Linked DNA regions of Homo sapiens: all the other regions are linked to region 1. Evidence: promoter capture Hi-C in 16 types of primary human blood cells and fetal thymus (Javierre and others, 2016). All regions are on one chromosome and are shown on one strand. Each heading gives the region's core, a stretch centred on a gene start or on the middle of the fragment in contact. The rest is flanking DNA. Distances are from core to core; before and after follow the strand shown. Region 1 holds the start of ADAMTS1 (ADAM metallopeptidase with thrombospondin type 1 motif 1). Region 2 has its middle 56 kb from the start of LINC01673. Region 3 has its middle 90 kb from the start of LINC01673. Region 4 has its middle 73 kb from the start of LINC01673.

Region 1 (2,700 bases), core at 18-2,517:
GCACTAACGCGGGGGCGCGCGAGTGTGAGGGTTGCGGGTCCGCCCGGGGCTAGGGCGGTCGCTCTCGCCATTGTCCCCGCGGCTTTCCGCCTGTGAAACACGTCCTTCCTCTGGGTCCTTGAGCCCCTCCCACTTTTTGGAGAGAAGAGCCACTCAGTTTTTTTTCCTAAGGACCTGTTGGTGGACCTCTCCTCGCTTTCGTAACGCGGATATAGCCTTTTCCCTTCCTGGTAGGAAGAGGAAGGAGGGGTCCGGGAAGGAAGCCGATTTCCTTCTTTCCCCCTCTGCACGCTTGCTAGCCCCAGCGATCGCTGCTGGCCCCCGGGTAGGAAAGTGGGGTTCCTGGCCGTTTCTGCGACGCTGGCCTAGGGCTTGCAGCTGCTGTTGAGTGAAAGCACGCAGACTGGCGGGAGCCGATCATTTCTCGAATGAAGAAGAAAAAGCGCAATTCCCTCCTTATGCTCTAGGGAATTGAGCCGCGTCCCAGATCACCCATTCCAGAAATGTGAAACCGGGCCCTCACAAAGTCGTCTCTGGTGAAGAGGTGGCGTGCGGGGTGGGGGTTGGTGGAGGGTGAAGGCATAAGCAAACATATTTTAAAATCCAGATCGTAGGAAGTGTCACCTGGCCCCTCACCCAGGCATGCTTTCTGGGGGAAGCGCAGGGCCAAGCTTTCCCTAGAAAAGCTGGGGCGAAGAGAGAGCAGGCGGCGGCTAAGGAGCTCCTGGCAGGCTGGGAAGGTGGAGAAGTGGGGTGAGGTATTTTTCTAGAAAGTGTAGCCCTAGCTCATCTCCTAGATTGGGGAAGAGGGAACTGAGGGAGGAGGGAAGGAGACCCAGGGCAGCTCCAGGATAGGGAAATGTTGAAGAAGGGACTGCGTTCTCCAACCGAACCCTCCCTCCTGGGAACCGCAGCCCAGCGCGGTAACTGAGTTACCGCAACCGGGCGGTGGGGAGGAAGGGTGGTCCAGGAAACCGGCGAGGGAGAAAAGCGGTGGAAGGGAGAGTCTTCTCCCTGGAGCGGCCCCAGCAGTACAAAGTGCTGGTCACAGCGCCCCTTCCGCCCCTAGATTGACGAGCAGTGGCGTGGAGCCAGCGCGGAGGCTGCCCCCTCCCCCTCCCGAGCCCGCAGCGCGGAGCGCGGTTTAGCACCAACGGAGCCGGGGGCGGCGTCTTTGGGATGGAAAAGGGCCAAAGGGGAGGAGTGGGGTGGGGGTGGGGGTTTCACTGGTCCACTATAAAAGGACCGCTCGGCTGCCCGGTTCTTGCACTCGCTGGAAAGCGGCTCCGAGCCAGGGGCTATTGCAAAGCCAGGGTGCGCTACCGGACGGAGAGGGGAGAGCCCTGAGCAGAGTGAGCAACATCGCAGCCAAGGCGGAGGCCGAAGAGGGGCGCCAGGCACCAATCTCCGCGTTGCCTCAGCCCCGGAGGCGCCCCAGAGCGCTTCTTGTCCCAGCAGAGCCACTCTGCCTGCGCCTGCCTCTCAGTGTCTCCAACTTTGCGCTGGAAGAAAAACTTCCCGCGCGCCGGCAGAACTGCAGCGCCTCCTTTTAGTGACTCCGGGAGCTTCGGCTGTAGCCGGCTCTGCGCGCCCTTCCAACGAATAATAGAAATTGTTAATTTTAACAATCCAGAGCAGGCCAACGAGGCTTTGCTCTCCCGACCCGAACTAAAGGTCCCTCGCTCCGTGCGCTGCTACGAGCGGTGTCTCCTGGGGCTCCAATGCAGCGAGCTGTGCCCGAGGGGTTCGGAAGGCGCAAGCTGGGCAGCGACATGGGGAACGCGGAGCGGGCTCCGGGGTCTCGGAGCTTTGGGCCAGTACCCACGCTGCTGCTGCTCGCCGCGGCGCTACTGGCCGTGTCGGACGCACTCGGGCGCCCCTCCGAGGAGGACGAGGAGCTAGTGGTGCCGGAGCTGGAGCGCGCCCCGGGACACGGGACCACGCGCCTCCGCCTGCACGCCTTTGACCAGCAGCTGGATCTGGAGCTGCGGCCCGACAGCAGCTTTTTGGCGCCCGGCTTCACGCTCCAGAACGTGGGGCGCAAATCCGGGTCCGAGACGCCGCTTCCGGAAACCGACCTGGCGCACTGCTTCTACTCCGGCACCGTGAATGGCGATCCCAGCTCGGCTGCCGCCCTCAGCCTCTGCGAGGGCGTGCGCGGCGCCTTCTACCTGCTGGGGGAGGCGTATTTCATCCAGCCGCTGCCCGCCGCCAGCGAGCGCCTCGCCACCGCCGCCCCAGGGGAGAAGCCGCCGGCACCACTACAGTTCCACCTCCTGCGGCGGAATCGGCAGGGCGACGTCGGCGGCACGTGCGGGGTCGTGGACGACGAGCCCCGGCCGACTGGGAAAGCGGAGACCGAAGACGAGGACGAAGGGACTGAGGGCGAGGACGAAGGGGCTCAGTGGTCGCCGCAGGACCCGGCACTGCAAGGCGTAGGACAGCCCACAGGTAGAAGAATTGCTCTCGTTTGTCTGTCCATTCATCCTCCTCTCCTCACTTTATCTATCCCACGCGACTTCAGGGTAGACTCCTGCTGGCAGGCAGGATCATAAGTCCGCGGACAGAACGGAGGCCTGGAGTGGAGGAATGTGGTTTGAGGTTTGGATTGGTGAACTCAGCTAGAAAACATACTTGCATTTGCCCGAATAATGAATAACCAAGAAAAAAACTGACAAACGATTTTCTGCAAACTAAAGC
Region 2 (2,718 bases), core at 83-2,582, 740 kb before region 1:
GATCTCATGTGTTTGGTTTATTTTTAGAGACAGGGTCTGGCTATATCAACCGGCTGGAGTGCAGTGACAACATAGACATGAGCATACTGTAGTATAGCCGTGAACTCCTGGGGTCAAACAGTCCTCCCACCTCAGCCTCCTGAGTAGCTGAGACTACAGGCACATGCCACGGCACCTGGATGATTTCATTCAGTTTAAAATAATTTACAAATTCTGTAGATCTTAGCTAAACCCTCTGGATTTTGGGTTCTTCCTTCTGATCTGTTTTCCTTTTCCCTGAGAACCAACCTGTGTCAGCAGCTAAAGAGTTTTCTCATCCAGTTTTCTTTTCAAAGATATTTGGTGGCCCGGAAACCTATTTTCAATTTGAGAACTTCCAGCTCCTTAGTCCGAACTGGCTTTGATTCGCTGATAAATTCTTTTGAAGAGTTCATGGGATTTCTAAACAATGGATTATACTCTAGTATGTTAGAAAAAAAAATAAAGCCATATCTACATTTGCTTTCCAAAAAGCCCACTCTCTACTTTGGGCAAGTGTTGGGCTGTTATGGGACTAGGCCTAGAGAGTCTTGAAATCCATTCTTCTAGCTTGAGATGGTCTATCAGATTCAAAATCTTTCTGAGCTTTAAAGAGTCTCACATCCATGTTTGAATAATTTTTGGCCACAGGCCTCATTTATTTTAAGAAACTTTTAGCCGCTTTTGAAACTAAGGATAGAAGAAATGTTGTCTTTCTGTCCAACCGGTCCCTGTATATTTCCTCAAAATTCTGATCACAAAATAAATAATTCCTTCAGCTCATCTCTTTTGCTTCATTTCTTATTAAAGGAAACAAAATAAGCGAAATTACACTGTCCATGTTCTACCTGGCAAATAATCTTGGCAAAATTTATAAGATAATTTTGCCAGCTATCTTGGTGTCATCATCTGAATCCCCAGAACAGCTTTTTCTCTGCTCTCCCAGTCTCAGAATAATAATATATTTTTTTCTGACATTTTTCCAGACCTCAGCCAATAGCTAGCCAATTAACAGGGGTAGGTTACTTAGTTACACGTCAACTATCTGCAGATGTATGAGTGAGCCCAGCAAAAACCAGCAGAAAAAAACTGCACTACTGACCCCAGCCACAATGGCAGATTACACACATTTGTGAGCCAAATATTAATAGTTGTTTTAAGCATTCAGTTTTGTGGCAGTTTGTAACAACACAACAATTGAGAACCAATAAATGTATTCTAGAAAAATTATTCTAGAATAATTTTGGAGTGTGCCCCACTCCAACACTTCTAGCTCTGAGGTAAAGAGGGTGGTTTAAGTATGCTCAGTTTCTTCTCTCAAACATACCATTTAGTTAAGTCATATTATCCCCCATGGAGAAAAATGAGTTATAATTGGAGAGAGAAGCCAGGAATATCATTCAAACTGAAATTCTCTTCAAATAGAAACATGAGACTGAGAAAATGGAGATACCTTATCAATAATACTCATAAGATATGAATAGCTCAGTTAAAATTAGGTTGAAGAATATGAATTCACAAAAGAAAGAAATATTAACAATAAATATACATTTTAGTTTAGCAGTTGTATTAGAAGTACCACAAGTGTGAGCATCAGTGTATGATCTGCATTTGGTAGCCTCACGATCCCTTTCTTGTTGGCCCTGATCTGCGTTAGGTAAGGAAGGTGCAATCCTTTGATTGCTTAGGACTGAGTAATCAGCCCAGCCCAAGACCAGGGTATCAATGACTTCTGCCAAGTCATGGAGCCTGAGAGGTCAATCAGAGCATTTCCATTTGAAGTGGGAATAGATGCTAAGTGGTTCAAATAATATATGCCCACTAAAACATCCCTAACAAGAAATGAATTAAAATGAAATGTATTCAAAATGGGACAGCAAACATATTAAAAATGATAAAATACAATTATTCTATTATTCTGTCACCCAGGCTGGAGTGCAGTGATATGATGGTAGCTCACTGGAGCCTTAAACTCCTGGGCTCAAGTAATCCCCCTACCTCAGCCTCCCAAGTGGCTGGGACTACAGGTATTAGCCACCATGCCTGGCTAATTTTTTAATTTTTTGTAGAGACAAGGTCTTGCTATGTTGCCCAGAGTGGGCTTTAACCCCTAAGCCCAAGCAATCTTCCCACCTTGGCCTCCCAAAGTGCTAGGATTACAGGTATGAGCTATGGCACTCAGCCTAATTATTTTTTATAGAATCATACAAAAACAGAGTTATTGAAATGTTTAGTCATATCCAGCAAAGCTACAGATGCTATTTATTTGTAATATTTTAAATTATAGAAATTCTTTATGCTCTGATCTTAAAATACATATTTCTAGAGTTTTTCCAACCAAATTTAAAGAAAAAAATATATACACACATATATATCTGTATTTTAAAATAATATATCTATACACACATATTAATTAATATACAAAGAAACAGATATAACCTCACGTATGTTTAAAAACAATTTGCTGTCAAAGTGTAAATAACTTTAATACTAAATACAGTTATATAGTTTATATACATGTTCTAATTTGTATAGTTGGTGTATGTTTTTATATGTATGTATATATAGTATTTAAGTTGCATACATAGATTGACAATCAAAGCCTAATATAAAGAAGAATCCTATAGAATTGACTTCATTTAAAGCTTTAACTTCTCACAGTTGCTATGATGTACTGCTCTGAAAATGTATCATTAAAGA
Region 3 (2,700 bases), core at 49-2,548, 700 kb before region 1:
ATTAGGGACATGGCAAGAGTTCTTTGTTTTACTTTATACTCTAAGGAAGGCAGTTGATAAATATGTATTTATCATAGAAGCCAAAGGAGATTTTTGCTATGAATATCAAAAACAAATTAGACTAGAAAAACAATTATTTGTCTTTCCCTTTACTATTATTAAACAACACCTTCTACTTAATATCGAGCCCCTAAAGTATGTGACAACACTGCTATTTTAAAATGTTACATATTTGTTAGATCCTGTACCCTGGTGATGAATAATGCAATACTCACCAATGAATAGAAACTACATTTTTAATTAAAATCTATTATATTAAACTGAGAAACAAATTGCAAAATCTACAAAAATAGTCCTCCTACAGTTAATTAAATATTATAAATGTGCTCTTTAAATCTCAAAAAGAATAATCTTTTAATATAGGACTTGATATGCAAAGGTACAGCTTATATTTGTAGTTAAACTGATCATAAATAAGAAGAAATAAAGTTAATGTTTTAAGTCCATCATATTTATACATAATTAAATAGGAATATATAATGTATTACTTTGGGTTTTATTTTTAAATCAATAAAGACCATGCCTTGAGCAGTTTGAAGGTTTTATCTAATTGAAAACCAGACATATTTTTGTCTCTTTTTTTTTCCCACAAGCAAAACACCCTTTTACTTATTCTCCTGATGACTTAATGTAATAAACTTAATAGTGTAGACTGATCCATATCTAATCTTGAATTCTAAAAATCATTAACTAAAATGAACTACATGTCTTCGATTTTGAAATAATATGGCATTTTAGATCCCCTGGTAACCTACTATAGTTGGAATACATATTTTCAGATAAAACATTGGATGACATATTGCACTGTATAGTATATCTTTTAATAGGTACATACAGCCAAGTATGAAGTAATTTGTCCATGGTTGGAGGTTGATCAAAATGATTTTAGAATTTAGGTTTTTAAAAATAGGGCAGTAGCATAACTACCACAGTAGTGGATGATGGAAGTCAAATACCTTTAATACTCATAAGTACCATTATTAATAAATCTGAATCAATCAGGAGATGAATGACATGATTATCCATGTTTCTAGCGTGCGACTTCCATATATAAAGGTTACATGGAGATTGGGGAAATAAAATTATTTGAAGAGAAAAAGACACGTTGTTCAGTCCAATGAACAATTTATCGTTTCAAACAATTGAAAAATATAATAATCTCTACCATTTTTCAAAGTGAACCAGAATTTATAATTAAGTAAAGTATTATTGATTTTTGATTATCAAGGCCTCTCAAAAATTTAGAATTCAGGAGCAGAAGAATATGGTTAATTACCAAATAATATATTTATTCCTTCTTTTATATCAATGCTAAAGATTAATAAATAATAGGCTATTGGATGCCCATCATTGGCAACCTGTCTGTTTTATATTATAGTGCATGCTTCATGGAGTGAGTGGTGGAAGACTTTGTATTGCATTTCATATTGTTTTTTACAATGAAGAAACACCACAGAGAGGCTGTAAAGACTACAACAAGATTGTTCCAAATTAAACAAGTTAGAAAGAAAAACAAATTAGCAGTCAAAGGCTGAGTGAAGTGATAGTTTAAAAACAATGCCAGATGTCCTGATGGGGATTATTTTCTCTACGTGCATTTGAAAGTGGGAACTCTGCAAATACCCTAGAATAAAAATCAACCAGGGCAGAGTTGATATCAGCATATAAACATTTCAGCTCATCAATTTGAACAGCCACTGTAAATGAGTGGAACCAAGTTGTTACACGGTCCTAACCTAAACATAATTTGCTTTGCTCTTGGCATTTGGTTAATATTCATCTCTTTCACTTACGGGTCTTCGCAGCTTTCATGACAACACCACAGGCTTCTCTTCAGACATAGCCAATAACTGAGAGGGTAAGATCTTCTGAATGGGCAGCAAAGTTCAGAGAATATCTATAATAAACTTCAGCGGTGAAAATAATTTCCCTATTCATTTTATATTCGACCAGAGGGGTAAAATTCAGAAACAGGATTTAGTAATTCAATATCTGTTATGAAACTGGATGGACTGCTGATTAAATTAATTATTTTGTTATTATTTCTAATGCTTTTCAGTGAACATATGACACTCAGAAACCAGAAGAACATCTGATTTTATAGCACAAACCCAGTTATGTCATTCAAAAGCATTTGGTTCCAGTATTCAGAATGCCAGTCCATGATCTCCTCCTTCAGCCATGTCCTCTCCTCCTAGCCTTCTTCTCTGCCCCACCCCCACCTCTGCCTTCTTCTTTCCTTTGCGAATAGCAGAGATGGCTTTCAACCTTATAATCTCAACCTCATTCACTTGCTTATTTAATCATCATGGTCCTAAAATCCACATTTGCAATAAAATGAGATATTGAAAAAATTCTTATTTTTCCCTATTACTGAGCCCACTTGAAAGAAAGGAAATCCCTTTAATATAACTCTATGTATCCAATGTGCATCTGAAAGACTCCAAACCTCTAATCCTATATGACTGAAAAGATGGCATATGAAAGAAAATATCAGTCCCCTGACGTTTGCTGACTGCTGAAGCCAAATGTCCCACACATTCACTCATGGCATCAGTAAATTTGACAGTGAGCTTAGATGATTTAATTGTCCGTCTTGACCCAAATAAAGATTTAACCCCTTAATGGAAATATTGAATT
Region 4 (2,723 bases), core at 77-2,576, 720 kb before region 1:
CTCTTTAAATGCACAAACCTAGACACCTCTCCTTTTATTTAAGGGATCTCTGGCTCCTCCAAGTAATTTGAGAAGCTGCGTCTTTTGGCAGCATAGATCAGCTGTTCAGGGACTCTCCCCATTCTTCTCCCCCTTTCTCTTTTCGGCTTTGAGACCGGTGCCAAATTAATCACCACTATAATCAAAACTACGATGTTTCACTTTCCCATAATTCCATCATTGTGCGTGATATAAAGTGTGGAACATACAAAAGTTTGAGCTTCTAAGAGAAAATAGACATACATACTTGTTGAATCAAGAATCTCTGCCTCTGTCATGTCTGACTCCTTGCACCCATGATTTAAATTTACCTCGTAGCAAAGAAGGCATGAGGGAAATTCTGTACTATAAAAGGGTGCCTCCATGAGATTTCCCCTAAATGTTCAGATAATCAAGGTTATCCATATGGGGCAGCAGGGAACTAAACAAAAAGTTTGACTCATTTGTTCAACAAATATCCATTAAGCGACTACTATGAGCTACCATACGAAGTGCTGGGAAGACAGTCAAGATGAAGCCCCTGATCTCAAAATGCTTCCGGTCCAGGAGTAGAGTGTGGCTAGAGGCTGGGAGAAGACAAAATTCACTACGTAGGAATTTAAATATAACCATGGTAACATTGGAAGGTGAAATTCAGGGAGTTGTTAGTTTGAGATGGTTGGTGTGACCCGGAAAAGGTTTTATTGAGGTAATGGTATTTCAATTGAGAGTTAAAGGGTAGGAATGGTGGCAAGGGCAGAATCCCGGCAGAGGAAAAAGGTGTTTAGATTCAGAGTTGGGAATGGCTTTGGTCATTAAAGAAAATAAGTAAAACAAACAAACAAAAATCAATATGCTTGAAACAGAGTAAACAAAAAGAGGGGCTAGTTAAAAATGGGCTGGAGAACCAAGCTGAGGCTGGAATCTACAAAGCCCTGGAGGCCTCCTTAAATTTTTTTCATTTTATCCTAGGAGGAATTAGAAATAACTACAGTTTGTTATATAAAAGATGACTCTCAGAATTTAAAAAAAAGAATTTTAAGGTTTATTTGTTTATGTATTGCTAGTTTGCTCAAACATCACCTTCTTAAAGAGGCCTACTCTGTCTCTTCTCTTAGTACAGCAAGCTGGCTGCATCTCCACCCCTACTCCTCCCAGTGGCCCTTAATACACTGTGGTTTTCTTTATGCCTGCTACCAATCAAGTCATTTACTCATTTATCAAGTTTATTGCCTATTGTTTGTTTCTGCTCACAAGTGCAAGCCCCCCATATGCAGAGCTCTGCAACATCTGATGCTGTATTGCACGCAGCTTCTTAGAGCAGCATCTAATATAAAAGAGAACTGTGCTCAATAAGTATTGACTCAGCACATGAGCTTCCCTAGGCAAAATCACTTATTATATCTTTGTTCTTCATCAAAAATTCACACTAGGCAGTTTAAACTTAATTAAGGTAGTACATAAAATAAATTGCTTTTTTTTTCTCCTTGGGAGCTTTGTAATGAATAGTCTCAGCATTATTTATTTAAGCTCTGTAGCAGACATGGTCACATTCTCAGCAGAGAGGTCATGAACAAAATATTCTCATCCAAGGAGATTTTTTTGTAGATTAGACTCAAGAGGTCCAACATTGGCAAGTCAGCATGTGTGATATTTTTCTAGGCCTGTTCTCACACATATCCATTTCTAATTCACAATCCACAGTACAGACTTCACATTTATAGGAGTCAATTTTTAAGTTCACGTAGTGACCCCTCAGATATGTAGCTATGTAATCTCTAGCAAAAGCCCAAGTACTTTTTTACCTCCTGAGATATCAGTGCTAAGAAAATGGTGGGCTTTTGTTTTTAAGGATGCAGCTCTTAGTCTATAGAGGGTTTGAGCAGCTGACCAGTAGAGGGCACCTGCCACTCTAAAATTGCCTCATGTCCTGTCAGTCTAGAGACACAGGCTTCACTGATTTATAAATAAGTTATTATTGCCTTCAGAATATTTTTATTTCCTTTCTGATCATCCAATATTATTGATTTCTAACACAAGTAATATGTCATAATAAAAATAAAGATTCATAAAGAGAAAAACTAAATCACTAATAGTACGATTACCCGGAGATAGCATAACCACTATTAATGTTTGATATTATTCCATATTATAATACATGCATCTGAATTCCATGTATTTCCCCAAATGGGATCACAAAGTAAATGCTATTTAATAACTTAAAAATAGATGAAATATGCAAGTTGAATCTAGGGCTATATCTTATAATGCCAGAAAGTCCTAAAAAAAAAAGGAAGAAAAGAAAACCCACAATGATGGGGGCATGTCAAAGGGTCCGAGGAACAAACTGAAAAAGCTCCAAGTGTCCATAGCTAGAACAATTTGGGCAACAAAGCAAACAAAGTAGCATTGGATTATGGTCCAAATTATAAAATCAATGTCTGAGTCCATACAGATATCAATACACAATTGAATAGGTAGTAGAGAAGAAACAAATCTGCCTTGTAGAAGAATACCAAATAATCAAAACAACTCACTTCTTCAGTATGAGCTGTTAATAGTGACTTTCTTCCAAAGGGTGCAATATGGAAAGAGTTGAAAAATAGTAAATTTACAGTGGAAAAACCTAACACCACCTTAACTAGGTGACCAAGGTCAATATCAACAAGTCATGTTGACTGTATGTAGCTTTAATATGTTGTTAG

Evidence for each region. Contacts are between HindIII fragments. The CHiCAGO score rates a contact against its expected background, and 5 or more counts as called.
Region 2: a fragment that was not itself captured here is called in contact with the fragment with the promoter of ADAMTS1 in region 1 in 3 of 17 cell types (M2 macrophages, M1 macrophages and M0 macrophages); the score reaches 6.1 in M2 macrophages.
Region 3: a fragment that was not itself captured here is called in contact with the fragment with the promoter of ADAMTS1 in region 1 in 1 of 17 cell types (M2 macrophages); the score reaches 8.9 in M2 macrophages.
Region 4: a contact is called between a fragment that was not itself captured here and the fragment with the promoter of ADAMTS1 in region 1, in 5 of 17 cell types (M2 macrophages, M0 macrophages, M1 macrophages and 2 more). The highest score is 19.0, in M2 macrophages.

Annotation. Positions count from the first base shown.
Region 1 is chr21:26,843,976-26,846,675 of GRCh38, reverse strand. It overlaps ADAMTS1 (ADAM metallopeptidase with thrombospondin type 1 motif 1), which reads left to right and starts at 1,267. Exons shown (of 9, transcript NM_006988.5): 1 at 1,267-2,451. The coding sequence starts at 1,722. RefSeq lists enhancers at 1-482, 483-1,083. The HindIII fragment of the contact is 3,865 bases long and covers 674-2,700 here.
Region 2 is chr21:27,581,438-27,584,155 of GRCh38, reverse strand. No RefSeq gene overlaps it. Among named protein-coding and RNA genes, the nearest start is that of LINC01673, 56 kb to the left of the region's middle. The HindIII fragment of the contact is 2,666 bases long and covers 1-2,665 here.
Region 3 is chr21:27,547,697-27,550,396 of GRCh38, reverse strand. No RefSeq gene overlaps it. Among named protein-coding and RNA genes, the nearest start is that of LINC01673, 90 kb to the left of the region's middle. The HindIII fragment of the contact is 3,738 bases long and covers 1-2,700 here.
Region 4 is chr21:27,564,068-27,566,790 of GRCh38, reverse strand. No RefSeq gene overlaps it. Among named protein-coding and RNA genes, the nearest start is that of LINC01673, 73 kb to the left of the region's middle. The HindIII fragment of the contact is 4,324 bases long and covers 1-2,723 here.